5 separate regions of the Homo sapiens genome follow, and regions 1, 2, 3 and 4 are each linked to region 5. Evidence: promoter capture Hi-C in 16 types of primary human blood cells and fetal thymus (Javierre and others, 2016). All regions are on one chromosome and are shown on one strand. The core of a region is centred on a gene start or on the middle of the fragment in contact, and the rest is flanking DNA. Distances in the headings are between cores, read along the strand shown. Region 1 overlaps PDE1A (phosphodiesterase 1A). Region 2 overlaps PDE1A (phosphodiesterase 1A). Region 3 overlaps ITPRID2 (ITPR interacting domain containing 2). Region 4 has its middle 42 kb from the start of ITPRID2. Region 5 holds the start of DNAJC10 (DnaJ heat shock protein family (Hsp40) member C10).

Region 1 (2,700 bases), core at 18-2,517, 550 kb before region 5:
TTCCACCCCTCTCTGGGATTAACTGCATTGTCAGAAAAAAGAGTAATGGTCTCCCCTGCAGCAGTTGCCGGGCAAGACAATGCTGATTCTCCTTGAGACCCACCCCTACCACCCCTCTTTGCTTCTAAACCTGTAACTAGACTGAAATCCCAGAGGGGAGGTTCAGAGTGTGACCCACAAGGAGGTGCGCTATACTCCAAAAGAACTACTTGAGTGTTCTAACTGATACCAGCAGAAATCCAAGAAACATGCGTGGGAATGGATATTAAGGATGTGGGATTATGGTGGAAGAAACAAAGAATAAGGTCAAATTTATTGATATGAGCCCACTAAGCATATATTCTGCATTTAATATTGAAGCTCAAGGAGTGAAAACAGGCACTATAAGTTTATTTGGCTGACTGGCTGAAACATGGATCAAAAAATAGACCACCCCAGGAGTGAGCTGGGGATGCCTGATCTACCTTGGTTTCATTTAGAGGAGGGAATTAAAAGGCTTAAGGAAATTGGAATGATACAGTGGACTTGTCACATAAAACCTACTCCCCCACACTGGGAGGGTCCAGAAGATACACCTTTCACTAATATTTTAAGAAATAAATTTGTGAGGGGAGCACCAGCATCCTTAAAGATCTCTGTGATTGCTCTTCTCTGCATTCCAGAACTTATAGTGGGAACTACAATCACTCAATTAGAAAACAAATGCAATGGGAATAATTGGATCCCTGGGTGGCAGGAGCCAAGCGATGGCACTCAAATGTCAAAGGCAAGGTGGGCGTAGTTACTGGAATTAACAGCAGAGGCAAAGCAACAATCAGAATAATCTGACTTGTGTAGACCTCCAGCACTGGCTAATTAATCATGATGTTCCTAGAAGTAAAATAGATGGGAAGCTTACTATGCTCTTACTTGAACTGTAGAAGCACAAAATTTCTGGGTCAAGTGAAGAAAAGTCTAACTCAAATCTTGACAACAGGGAATCACTGCCCCTCAATCAATTTCTAGACTTGAGCCAGTTTACAGACCCAGAGCCCTTTAAGTGAAGGGGAGACCAGGTCCTGTTGAGGAAAGACTCTGGTGCACTACATAAAATTTATACTGTTAATCTTTCTCTTATACTTCCCCAAAGGGACCTCTGGCCTTGTATCAGGGAAAGGAAAATAATCAGGCTTTTCAGGGATGACTGGCCACTGGCTCTGAACTGACATTGATCCCAAGAGACTGAAAACATCACTGTGGCCCTCCAGTTATAGTAGAGGTTAGGGGAGTCAGGTGATTCATGGAGCTTTAGCTCAGGTCCAGTGGTCCCCGAACCCATAAGGTAGTTATTTCCCCAGTTCAAAATGCATTATTGAAATAGACAGACTTAGCAGCAGACAGAATCCCCACATTGGTTCCCTAACTAGTGGGTGAAGATTATTATGATAGGAAAGGCCAAATGGAAGCTATTAGAACTGCCTGTACCTAAGACAATAGTAAATAGAAAACAAGGTAGCATTCTTGAAGGGTTTGCAGAGACTAGTGCAACCATCAAGGACTTGACAGATGCAGAGGTGGTGATTTTCACCATGTCCCCATTCAACTCTCCTATTTGGCTTGTACAGAAGACAGATGGATCCTGGAGAATGGCAATGGCTTATTGTAAGCTTACCCAAGTCGTGACTCTAATTGCAACTGCTACACCCAATGTAGTTTCATTCTTGAACACATTAACACATCTGGTGCCTGTTATGCAGCTATTGTTCTGGTAAATGCTTTTTCTCCATACCTGTCCATAAGGCCCACCAGAAGCAATTTGATTCACTGGCAAGGCCAGCAATATACCTTTGCCCTCCTACCTCAGGGGTATACCAACCCTTCAGCCCTATGTCATAATCTATTTTGCAGGGATCCTGATTGCTTTTCCCTTCCACAAGCTATCACCCTGTTCACTTCATTGATGATATTATGTTAATTGGACCTAGTGAGCAAGAAGTAACAACCACTGTGGATTTATTGGCAAGACATGTGCATTGTCAGGGGGCAGGAAATAAATCCAACTAAACTTCAGGGGCCTTCCATTTCAGTGAAATTTCTAAGGGTCCAGTGGTGCAGGGCCTGTGGAGATAACCCTTCTAAAGTAAAGAGTTGTTGCATCTGGCCCCTCCTATAACTGAGAAAGAAGCACAATTCCTAGTGGACCTATTTGGATTATAAAGGCGACATATTTGGGTGTGTTACCCTAGCCCATTTACTGGGTGACACAAAAAACTGCTAGTTATGAGTGGGGCACAGAACAGGAAAAGACTGCAACAAGTCCAGGCTGCTATGCAAGCTGCTCTGCCACTTGGGCCATGTGACCCAAGAGCTCCAATGGTCCTTGCTGTATCAGTGGCAGATAGGTATGCTGTTTGGAGTCTTTGGCAGGGCCCTACAGGTGAATCACAATAGAGGTCTTTAGGATTCTGGAATGAGGCCTGGCATCATCTGCAGATAACTACTCTCCTTTTGCGAGGTAGCTCTTGACCTGCTACTAGGCCTTAGTAAAAGCTGAATGCTTGGCCTTGGGCCAGCAAATTACCATGTGACCTGAACTACCTACCATTAACTGGGTGTTATTTGGCCCATTAAGCCATAAAGTTGGGGAGACACAGCAGTATTCTATCGTCACATGGTAGTGGTATACACACGATCAGGCTGAAGCAGGTCCTGAAGGCACAA
Region 2 (2,700 bases), core at 193-2,692, 540 kb before region 5:
GTGGGGGCCTGCCGTGGGAAAGCAAGGGGTCAGAGTCAGAAGGTGATACCAGCCAAAAACCAATGGGGGCTGTCTGTCTGGAAAGATGAGAGAGAGGCCAGAGGTCAAGCAAGAACCTGATGCTCATCTGAAATCCATTAATACCACAACATTAGTCCCCAGGGACTGCAATGCCATCTAAAGAAGGAGGAAAGAGAGGTCAGAAACCCTGGATTGACCAGGCTTACTCTGATTCAGTCAAAACACTTAAATGATAAGCTTATATTTTCTTCAAACAGGTAGCATGAGGACATAGCTAGAAACTATGTTTGGTCACAGAGAAATAATGAAGGGTATATTATTTATGCACCTGATTTGTGGCCTAAGGATATGATATGTACAGACTTAAACAAAACACTAATATTTAAAAAGTATCTGCACAGTATTTGGATTTTTTTTTCTGTCTCATGTTTTCTGCAAGATCCAGAAAACTCCTGCTGAAACAGAACAACATTTGTGTTGTCATGGATAAATTTTAAAAAGCATCTTGTTGAGTGGAAAGCAATTCACAAAGGAATGTATATGGCACAGTTCCATTTATATTGTTTTAAAACAGACAAAACTAAATTATACATTGTTTAAAATTATACAAAGAGGGATAACAGCTTAAAAAAAGAATGATTATCACAAAATTCAAAACAATAATTAGCTCATGGGTGGGAGAGAAGGAAATAAATGATTAGAGAAGGCATAGAGAGAATTCCAAGGGCATGGCAAGATCATATATTTCATATTTTGGGGCCTAGATGGTAGGTTTTCTACCTCTCTCCTTCCTTCTTCCCTTCTCCTCCTTTCTCTACCCCCTCCTCTCTCGTCCTCCCTCTTGCGCTCTGTCTCTCTCTTTCTTCCCTGCCTACTGCAGATAATCATTTGAATTTCTACTTTGTGCCAGTCTCTGTTCAAAGAGCTTGGGATACATCAGCAATGGAAACAAACATCTTTATTTTAATGAACCTTATTTTTAAGAGGGTGAAGTAGATAATAAAAATGAAGCATAATAGGTCAACAGTCTCTCCCTGCTCTAGGACTAGGGAGATGTTTTTGCGATATCTGTGAAATAGAGCTTAAGGGTTAATATGATGATGAGCAAACATCTGGAATTCTCTTCAAAGCCCTGATGCTTAATTAATATTCCAAAGCTCTAAACATCATATGACCTGCTTATTTTAATCTCAATGCAATTGTAATAAAGAAACTTTCATCTTCAGCGTATAAGACTAGAAGTGGTAGGTACTGGAAAATTAAAATGGCAATATCTGATACTCAGTGACTTTAAAATTGATCACTATGTTAGTAGATGCATTTTAATAGCTTATCATTGTTTCATTTTTATGCAATATTTCATGTATATAAATGAATTATAGATACATATATAAAGCACATGTTAGACATAATCATAATCATAATGATAAAATGAACTTTTGTGTGTCTAGTGCCCAATCTAGGAAGTAAAATTCTACTTATTTCTAATAATATGAAATTTTAGGTTGAAAAATTCTTATCTTTAAGAATGTTGAATATTGAATATTGTATATTGCCCTCACTCTCTTCTAGCTTGTAGGGTTTCTGCTGAGAGATCTGCTGTTAGTCTGATGAGCTTCCCTTTGTAGGTGACCTGACCTTTTTCTCTGGCTGCCCTTAAACATTTTTTCCTTTGTTTCAACCTTGGAGAATCTGAAAATTACGTGTCCTGGCGTTGATCTTCTCATGGAGTATCTTAGTGGTGTTCTATGTATTTCCTGAATTTGAATGTTGGCCTGTCTTGCTAGGTTGGGGAAGTTCTCCTGGATAATATCCTGAAGTGTGTTTTCCAACTTGATTCCATTCTCCCAGTCTCTTTCAGGTACTCCAATCAATCGTAGCTTCAGTATCTTCACATAGTCCCACATTTCTCGGAGGTTTTGTTCATTCCTTTTCATTATTTTTTCTCTAATCTTGTCTGCATGCCTTATTTCAGCAAGATGGTCTTCAAATTCTGATATCCTTTCTTCTGCTTGATTTATTCAGCTATTGATACTTGTGTATGCTTCATGAAGTTCTTGTGCTGTGTTTTTCATCTCCATCAGGTCATTTATGTTCCTCTCTAAACTGGTTATTCTAGTTAGCAGCTCCTGTAACCTTTTATCAATGTTCTTAGCTTCTTTGCATTGGGTTAGAACATGCTCCTTTAGCTCAGCAGAGTTTGTTATTACCCACCTTCTGAAGCCTACTTCTGTCAATTAATCTATCTCATTCTCTGTCCAGTCCTGTGTCCTTGCTGGAGAAGTGTTACAATCATTTGGAGGAGAAGAGGCATTCTGGCTTTTGGAATTTTCAGCGTTTTTGCACTGTTTCTTCCTCATCTTCATGGATTTATCTACCTTTGATCTTTGAAGCTGATGACCTTTGGATGAGGTTTTGTAGGAGGTCTTTTTTGTTGATGCTTTTGTTGTTGTTGCTTTCTGTTTGTTACTTTTTCTTCTAACAGTTAGACCCATCTTCTGCAGGTCTGCTGCAGTTTGATGGGGGTCCACTCCAGACCCTGTCACCTAGGTTTCACCAATGGAGTTTGCAGAACATCAAAGATTGCTGTCTGCTCCTTCCTCTGGAAGCTTCAGCTCTCCTGTATGAGGTGTCTATTGATCCCTGTTGGGAGGTCTCTCCCAGTCAAGAGGCGCAAAG
Region 3 (2,700 bases), core at 19-2,518, 800 kb before region 5:
CAAGGATAAAACATTGATTGGATTTACCAAAATAGATTATAATTAGAGCTTAATTAATGAGCGAATACCGAGAGATTCTAATAGAAGATCTGATACAGTTTTTGTTTGAATTTGAGTTACCTCCTGTACTTTGAAGACATAATTTTGCATAAGTAATGCATATTTTTCTAAGAAGCAGTCAAATATTGTGTATCTTATATCTGCTGGGAATCATATCTCTGTAGTAATATTGCTCTCAGTAATTTCTTATAGCCACTTTTTTTATTTATAGATCATCTGTTTCTTATAGCCACATTTTTTTATTCATAGATCATCTGTTACGTACTGCAAGTCAGCATTCCGATAGCAGTGGTTTTGCTGAAGATTCTACAGACTGCCTATCCCTTAATCATCTTCAGGTAAAATTTTCTGTTCTAATAGGCACTATGATTAACTTCCTCATTTTAAGGTGGTTTTTGTATTACTATATATTTTAATATTGAGTCTGTATAATCTTTATTTTTCAAGTGACAGAACAAAACTCCTGGCATGTAGATGTTATCTAAGCATTTGACTATAAATTTTAGATTTCATTAATTCTTCTCTCTGAATATGTTTTTAAAAATATCTATCTTCCCCTTAATTTTTGGACCACCAGTAAACAGAGATTATTGTGATCATTAACCTGTTTTGTCTGTTGTTTTTCTTATTTTTTTAACCATCATTATATTTCATTATTTTACAGTAATTGTTTTGCCTATTTAATAACTGACATTAATTGTGGACCTATAGCTTGCTGAGTGTTATACTGATTTTTACACTAGGTTGTGTGAGATAACCCAGAGAACAGGCACATCTTTATCCCCAAGAAGCATATAGTCTATATGTAGAGTACACAGAATGCACAGAAAAAGCATTTGAAACATTTTTTAAGCAAATTCTAAAGAAAATTGGGATGAGAAAACTCCCAAAGAGCCTTTAGGAACATAGCATTTAAGGGGTAAACAGACAAGAGGCATATGTAAGTTCACTGAGAAAGAGTAATTAAGTGAACAGAAACACTGGGAGATGGAGGAGAAACTTTCAGAAGGTATGGAAGAAAAGATAGGAATGTTGACTGGTTTTCAAATATGAATGATAGCTTAAGAGTGAGGGGTCTTTTTGTCCTTTTATAATAACATGAAATGACTTGGGGAAAGTGTTCAGCTAAGGGAAATAACCGTAAGAGAAGAACTGATTCAGAAAAATCCGGGCTGAAACTGGAGAGATACCCTGGTCTTGGAGAGGATATGATCAGGAACCCAGGTTGGAGGGATTCGCTTTGAGTTTCCTTTCAGAATGGAGAGAAGGAGGGAATGATGGGGAGAGATACAAGGAAGTTTTTAGATGTTGGGGAAGAATGTTAGGAAGTGTTTGTCCATTTTCTCTATGAGTCAGTGTGTTGTATTGAAAGGAAAGGGGGAGGTTGTTGGAAAGGGAATTTTAGGAAAACAGTGAAGTTCTGAAATAATCTTTGTGAGAAAGTGAGAGGAAGGAGGGATGTGGTTGCTGCTCAGGAGCAATAAAACAATTTTGAGCAACAGCAGGGCCACAACTGCAGTGGAGACAGTGAAATTATAGAAGCACCATGTTGGTTTGGTATTTTGTTAGTGACTCTTCTTACATATATTCTTCATCTTTCCACCTATTTTCTTTTCACAGGTTCAGGAGTCCTTGCAGGCTATGGGGAGTAGTGCTGATAGTTGTGACAGTGAGACAACAGTTACGTCACTTGGTGAAGACCTTGCCACACCAACAGCACAAGACCAGCCTTATTTTAATGAATCAGAGGAGGAGTCTCTTGTCCCTCTTCAGAAGGGACTAGAGAAGGCAGCAGCAGTTGCAGACAAAAGAAAATCAGGTAGCCAGGATTTCCCTCAGTGCAACACCATTGAGAATACAGGAACTAAACAGTCCACCTGTAGTCCAGGGGATCATATCATTGAAATTACTGAAGTGGAAGAGGATTTGTTTCCAGCAGAGACAGTAGAGCTACTGAGGGAAGCAAGTGCTGAAAGTGATGTGGGTAAAAGCAGTGAAAGTGAATTTACTCAGTATACCACACACCATATTCTGAAATCATTGGCTTCTATTGAAGCTAAATGCAGTGATATGAGCTCTGAAAATACAACTGGGCCTCCCTCTTCCATGGACAGAGTTAATACAGCTTTGCAAAGAGCTCAAATGAAGGTTTGCAGTCTGTCTAATCAAAGGATGGGGCGTAGCCTGCTAAAATCAAAAGATTTGTTAAAACAAAGGTACTTATTTGCAAAAGCTGGCTATCCTCTAAGAAGGTCTCAGTCTTTACCAACCACCTTATTGAGCCCAGTAAGGGTTGTGTCCTCTGTCAATGTTCGATTATCTCCAGGAAAAGAGACCAGATGCAGCCCACCTTCCTTCACCTATAAGTACACACCTGAAGAGGAGCAGGAATTGGAAAAGCGGGTGATGGAACATGATGGTCAGTCTTTAGTTAAATCGACCATTTTCATCTCTCCATCATCTGTGAAGAAAGAAGAAGCCCCCCAGAGTGAGGCGCCGCGGGTGGAGGAATGCCATCATGGAAGGACTCCTACCTGTTCACGGCTTGCTCCACCACCAATGTCTCAGTCTACCTGTTCCCTTCATTCCATCCACTCTGAGTGGCAAGAAAGGCCCCTGTGTGAGCACACAAGAACTCTG
Region 4 (2,700 bases), core at 14-2,513, 780 kb before region 5:
ATTCAGTTGAATTTCATACATTTAAAAGTACCGAATATTTGCTCAGCTGGCCATCTTCAACCTTTTCAGAGGAACATAAGAATGCAGTAAAGTGTATATAAAAGAATGTAAAGAGAACGTAAGTTTGGGCAGTTTCTGGAGAATTGCTGCATTGCCCATGTTCTTCACCTGTACAAATGGGAGTGTGGTCTTAGGGAAGGAATTAAGCAAAACTGAAGTGTATGTTCTTCTAGAATTTTTCCTCTCCTGGAAAGAAGGAAATTATAGCACTCCTAGGAAGTGGGAAGAGGAAACATCCTATCACCTTTTAATTGAAGCTGAGGGTCTACACTTTTAAGCATCACTTAGAGTTACTTATGAATATTGGAAACATTTAATTAGCACTTATTCTAATTGCATTCTAAATGTATAAAGTTAAAATGTCATAACTAATAGTTCCTCTCCTATACAGTTTCTTCTATGTATTGCTATTGAATGAGGCCTTTTCCTTTTTGTTCTCATTTCCACAACTGATGTTCCATTAGTCATATTGAGTAAATAACAGTTTATATACAGTGTCAGTGTAATAAATAATACTGTCACAAATCATAAGTAATAACTTGCATACAGAATGTCAGTGCTCAGCAGGGAGTTACAAATATATTAAAAGATAATGCATATCAGACAAATATCAGAGTCCATTTTCCTCACAAGGGTCTTTCTGCACACCCAAAGGAGAAAGACTTAAATTTTTGTGAACAATGAGCTTATTTGCTCACTCTATCATGGTAGTATTAGTACCTGTTTCTCAGTTGATAGAGAAGAATGTAAAGGAACTTTGCACAGCGCTTGGCACAGCTCAGTAAGTTAGCTGTTATGGTGATAGCAAAGATGGGTAAAGATAGGTGACAGGTAGATGAGTTTTGGCAAGTCAAAGCATTAAATGGGAAGGACAGAATATGGACTTATAGATCCAGGACTGACCTTTTCAACTTTAATGTGTTCTTTCAAGCAGTTGAACTAGGAACTGGTACCAGACTGCCGATTCTGATATAGCAGGTGAACATTAATTACTGGTTTTAACATTTTCAAGAAATTTTGTTATTTGAAACCAAAAAACTGGTCATGGAATACCATTTAGAACAGTGCTTCTCAAACTTTAATCATACAAATCAAATTACCTGAGAATCTGTAAAAAGGAAAATTCTGATTGAGGTCTGGGTCCTACCTTCTAGGATTGAATTTCTGCATTTCAAGAAGCTCCCAGGTGAGGTTGATGGTGCTGCCATGGACTGCACTTTAGTAGCAAGGACTTAGGATAGTAGGTCTTCACTACCTGTCTGCTAGATGCTTCAAAGGAAGGAAATTGTTAAGTAGGAAAAGGATTTTAATCTCCAAGGGTACGTCATCTTACAGGCCCCTTCAAGAAACTTTTCATTATAGCCAAAGTTCAAAATGAAGAACAAATGTAAGCAAAGCACATAGAAAGGAGACCTCAGGAGGGCCCACCCAAGGCATTGTGGAATTGTGCAATGGCCAACGAATGATCACAGTAAAAGAAAAAAAATTGCTGATTGCTGTTGATGGCAATGAATAGTAAGTCCTTATATTGTGTAGATTGGATGTTGAGAAAATGCAAAGACCATCTGAGTGCTTCTAGAATCAACCAGTCAAGAACCAGAATGAGACCCAAAAAAGAATTAGTCTAGAGATGCTGCAGAAAGAGATCGGATCTGGGATATGGAATTTATTTATAGCCGTTGGAGTTTGAAGGAGTTTATCATTCCTTTCAGAGAGATTCATGATATTTCACCTCTGCAGAGCACACTAATTTCTTATTCGTGTTCCTGAGTTAATTGTTTAGTAAATCCATGTACTGATGATTCATGGTTTTGCTTCGGTACATCTCAAATAATTTTATTATTTCAGCAGTCCAAGATAAAAAAGAAAAAGGCCCCTGAAGTATAAAGCAGACATCTGAGGAGTAGATTCACAAATATCTGTTAGAACTCTGTGCCTGGGCAGAGACTGCTCTTGATAGAATCAGCAGGGTCATCAGTTAAATCTCAGTTGTGAATGTCTTGATTTATGTTTAGTCAAAAAGGACTTGCATTGTTATTAACCTATTGATATCTGTAAAATATAGACATTTCAATAAGATGATGTGTTTACCCAATCTTCTTTAGTCTGTGATGACAAATGGGAATGCATTAATGATGACAGATATATTTTTCTTTTTCCATCATGTGTTGAAAGATATGTTCCTCTCCTAAATCTCATGCATTAATATTGGGGCTCCCCGAGAGTTATTCATACATCTTCATGACAGTCCTAATACGTCAATTCTAAGTGCTTTGCTCTTCTCTTGCTCTCTCTGTTGAGGGACCCAGTGCTCCCCTGCCCTTCTGCTGGGGTCCTCAATCGGCCAAGGTTATGATGATAACACACTGTATGGAAGTGGAGGGAGTGCTTCTCTTGCTGAATTACCCCTTACTACCTTAGCAGCATAGCAGCATTGCTTATAACCCAGCTTTCTCATATGAATCCCTTGTGAAAGAATCTTAGGTCATTTCTGCTTTCAGACACATCTTCATGGGGCTTGGCCATGGGTGAAAGCGCTTGAGGCAGACATTTCGCTGTCCTTCCTATCCTCTCTTCTCCTCTAATGCTGGCAAGCTCTCTCGCTCTCTGCTAAAATGCCCCCATTTAAATCAACTCATT
Region 5 (2,733 bases), core at 196-2,695:
GCCCCTCAAAGTTCTGCGATTACAAGCGTGAGCCACCACACCCGGCCCACCACCTCTTAAAGCATTTACCCTATTTGTCTAACATTCTCCTGTTCTTTCTCCAGTTTTGTATGCTTTGCATCCTCTCTCCAATAGCTGCCAGGATGATCTAAAATACAATCTCAGTCTCTTTTTTAAAAGCTTCCTCATCACCTAAGAGATAGAAATCTATGTCTTCATCTTGGTATAAAAACCTGTCTGTGATCTGGTCCCTGCTTCATCTTCCAGTTTTCTGTTTGTTTTTCAATTTACTTTAAGATTTTGTTACAGTGTGTAACAAAATGGTTACACACTGTGTCATAATGCTTAACATCATAGTCTCTGAAGCCAGGTTGCTTAGATGTGAATCCTAGCTCTCAAATATTTGCCTCAGTTTCCTCAAATGGGAAATAGATATAGGAGCCACTATCTTGTAAGATTATTTGGAGGACTAAATGAGTTACTACATGTGTGCTTAGACCAGTTCCTGAGACATATTAACTACTATTACATCAGGCTGCTTCTAATGTTTGCCTTTGTTCATTCTACTTCCTCTTCTTTCCTACCAAGTATTAGCTTAGCCATAGATCCTGTGTAGTTTTCCAAGTTTTTAGAAGCTGACACTTGATTTACTCCCCGAAACTGTTACCAATCACAACTTATTTCATGTTAGGGTTGATGTTATAAGCAGGTATCCTCTAGGCTCGGTTTTCTCTTTTAAATATAGAAAATGTAGTAAATATAACCACTTCAATTGTTATATTGCTGTGGGACAAAATGCAGTTCCTGTACCATAGCAGTAGGAGATCAAGGTAAGAGAGAACAACGATAACTCCCCAGTTTCTAGCTTGTATGACTCAGAATCCAGAAAATATTGTAGAAGTCTCAAATGCTTGTTGATACACACGCTTACACAAAATTGTAAATGTTTTAATTTCCTTCAAGTTTCCTACTGCCTCTTCAGTCCGCTAGCCTGATACTGCAATCAGTGTCGCTTCAGGCAACTTCTCCTTTCTCCGCCAAATTTCGCCTTTCGGTCTCACCCACCCATCACCCAGACAAATCCTCCAAAGCTCCGTCTTCCCTTTAAAAGACTCTCAGGGAACTCAACCCCAAAACCCACCCTCTGGGTTTCCCCGTCACCCTGGCAACGGAAGCAGGAAGAGGCGGGCTTCGCCATCCACCCTCCCCGCCCGCGGCAGGCGCCGGCCGCATTGGTGAGGGGGCGCGGGCTGCTTGGCCAGGGCAGTTCCCTCAGCTCCGGGTTGGAGCCGGAGCCGGAGCCGGATCCCGCGCACACCGCCACGTCAACCTAAACCTACACCGCCCTCTCCACCCCACCGCCGCAGCGCCCGCTGGGCCCGCAGCGGGTCTCCCCAGGCAGCGTCCTCCACGCCTTTCCCACAATGCTCCGCGCCAGGCCCCGCCCCGGCTCGCCGTGGAGACCGGCGCGTGAGGAACCTACCGGTACCGGCCGCGCGCTGGTAGTCGCCGGTGTGGCTGCACCTCACCAATCCCGTGCGCCGCGGCTGGGCCGTCGGAGAGTGCGTGTGCTTCTCTCCTGCACGCGGTGCTTGGGCTCGGCCAGGCGGGGTCCGCCGCCAGGGTTTGAGGATGGGGGAGTAGCTACAGGAAGCGACCCCGCGATGGCAAGGTGGGCATGGGCCCGGGGCTAGGGCTTTGCTGGAGCCGGTGGTGGCCTGGGCCCTCCGGTCAGGGAGGGGCGGAATGGCTGAGCGCCTGAACCTCCCTTCCTGTGCGCTCTTAAGACCTGGATATTGTGTTCTCGCTCCCCACCTTCCTCCTCCCTGTTATTCACACCACCCTTCCTCTGCCCAGCGATTCCCTCTCAGTTACTTACACTTTCTCCCTAAGTCCGACCTGAGACTTCAGACACCAGCAACACTTAACAGCCCTGTTCCCCCGTGTCTTCATCTTTACCCCTCTCCCCTCTCCCACTCTGCAGTGATGGCAATGCGAAAGCTTGCGCCTTGCATTTACCTGGCGCTTCCACCTGCCCGGTAGCTCGGGCCACGGGCAGTTCGGCCACACCCACGCTGAGAACAACCCCTGGGCGAGAAACATCTTATCCCAAAGTGTTGATTGAGACTATGCCCTCTCTTTTTCTGATGGTTGTTTTCTTGTTTGGATACTTGTTAATCTCTACATCATTATATTTTTCAAAGGTATATTTTTGTGGAATGAAAAGGAAGTATTAGAAATGAGCTGAAGACCATTCACAGGTAAAGAGAAAAATTTTTAAATATACATTTAGGATTAAATGAAAAACAGAAATGAGGTGCGAGGAGCGTTAGATTTTTCAAAGCATTACGATCTCTTTGGAACTAAAATATAGTGGTTGAAATGTGATATGATGAAGTAATGATTGTTTTTGCCCTGCAGAGAGTATGTCTAAATAACCGATTCCCTTCTCTTTTTGTGTTTTGTTTCTACTTACACCAAACATGAACTTTGCAATAAAATTACACTGGTAACTTACAATTGTTTTTCTACTATTTTTAAAAAATGGCCTCTACTTAAATTCAGTATAAGCACCTTCTGAGGAAACTCCGGGAAGAAGATCGACTGCTGTGTAGATTGTCTATTATAACAATATATTTCACTGTCATTTCTGGTAGGGTTATATGAGAAGTAAAAAACCCTATGTTTCCTTCTAGTCCCTCCCAAGGACATTTCCTACAAGTGAATTCTGCT

The links. Contacts are between HindIII fragments. The CHiCAGO score rates a contact against its expected background, and 5 or more counts as called.
Region 1: a contact is called between a fragment that was not itself captured here and the fragment with the promoter of DNAJC10 in region 5, in 1 of 17 cell types (endothelial precursors). The highest score is 5.0, in endothelial precursors.
Region 2: a contact is called between a fragment that was not itself captured here and the fragment with the promoter of DNAJC10 in region 5, in 3 of 17 cell types (M2 macrophages, M0 macrophages and endothelial precursors). The highest score is 6.4, in M2 macrophages.
Region 3: a contact is called between a fragment that was not itself captured here and the fragment with the promoter of DNAJC10 in region 5, in 1 of 17 cell types (M1 macrophages). The highest score is 6.5, in M1 macrophages.
Region 4: a fragment that was not itself captured here is called in contact with the fragment with the promoter of DNAJC10 in region 5 in 1 of 17 cell types (monocytes); the score reaches 9.0 in monocytes.

The regions. Positions count from the first base shown.
Region 1 is chr2:182,161,510-182,164,209 of GRCh38, forward strand. The region is part of intron 13 of PDE1A (phosphodiesterase 1A); the gene reads right to left. Among named protein-coding and RNA genes, the nearest start is that of PPP1R1C, 180 kb to the left of the region's middle. The HindIII fragment of the contact is 753 bases long and covers 892-1,644 here.
Region 2 is chr2:182,178,834-182,181,533 of GRCh38, forward strand. All of the region lies in intron 13 of PDE1A (phosphodiesterase 1A), which reads right to left. Among named protein-coding and RNA genes, the nearest start is that of PPP1R1C, 190 kb to the left of the region's middle. The HindIII fragment of the contact is 2,372 bases long and covers 257-2,628 here.
Region 3 is chr2:181,913,536-181,916,235 of GRCh38, forward strand. It overlaps ITPRID2 (ITPR interacting domain containing 2), which reads left to right. Exons shown (of 18, transcript NM_001130445.3): 10 at 310-398; 11 at 1,681-2,700. Among named protein-coding and RNA genes, the nearest start is that of ITPRID2, 23 kb to the left of the region's middle. The HindIII fragment of the contact is 4,193 bases long and covers 1-2,700 here.
Region 4 is chr2:181,932,466-181,935,165 of GRCh38, forward strand. No RefSeq gene overlaps it. Among named protein-coding and RNA genes, the nearest start is that of ITPRID2, 42 kb to the left of the region's middle. RefSeq lists a silencer at 1-103. The HindIII fragment of the contact is 8,454 bases long and covers 1-2,700 here.
Region 5 is chr2:182,714,812-182,717,544 of GRCh38, forward strand. It overlaps DNAJC10 (DnaJ heat shock protein family (Hsp40) member C10), which reads left to right and starts at 1,446. Exons shown (of 24, transcript NM_018981.4): 1 at 1,446-1,672; 2 at 2,205-2,261. It also overlaps a transcript of PDE1A not described here. RefSeq lists enhancers at 929-1,078, 1,099-1,168, 1,513-2,117 and a silencer at 1,679-1,838. The HindIII fragment of the contact is 1,821 bases long and covers 179-1,999 here.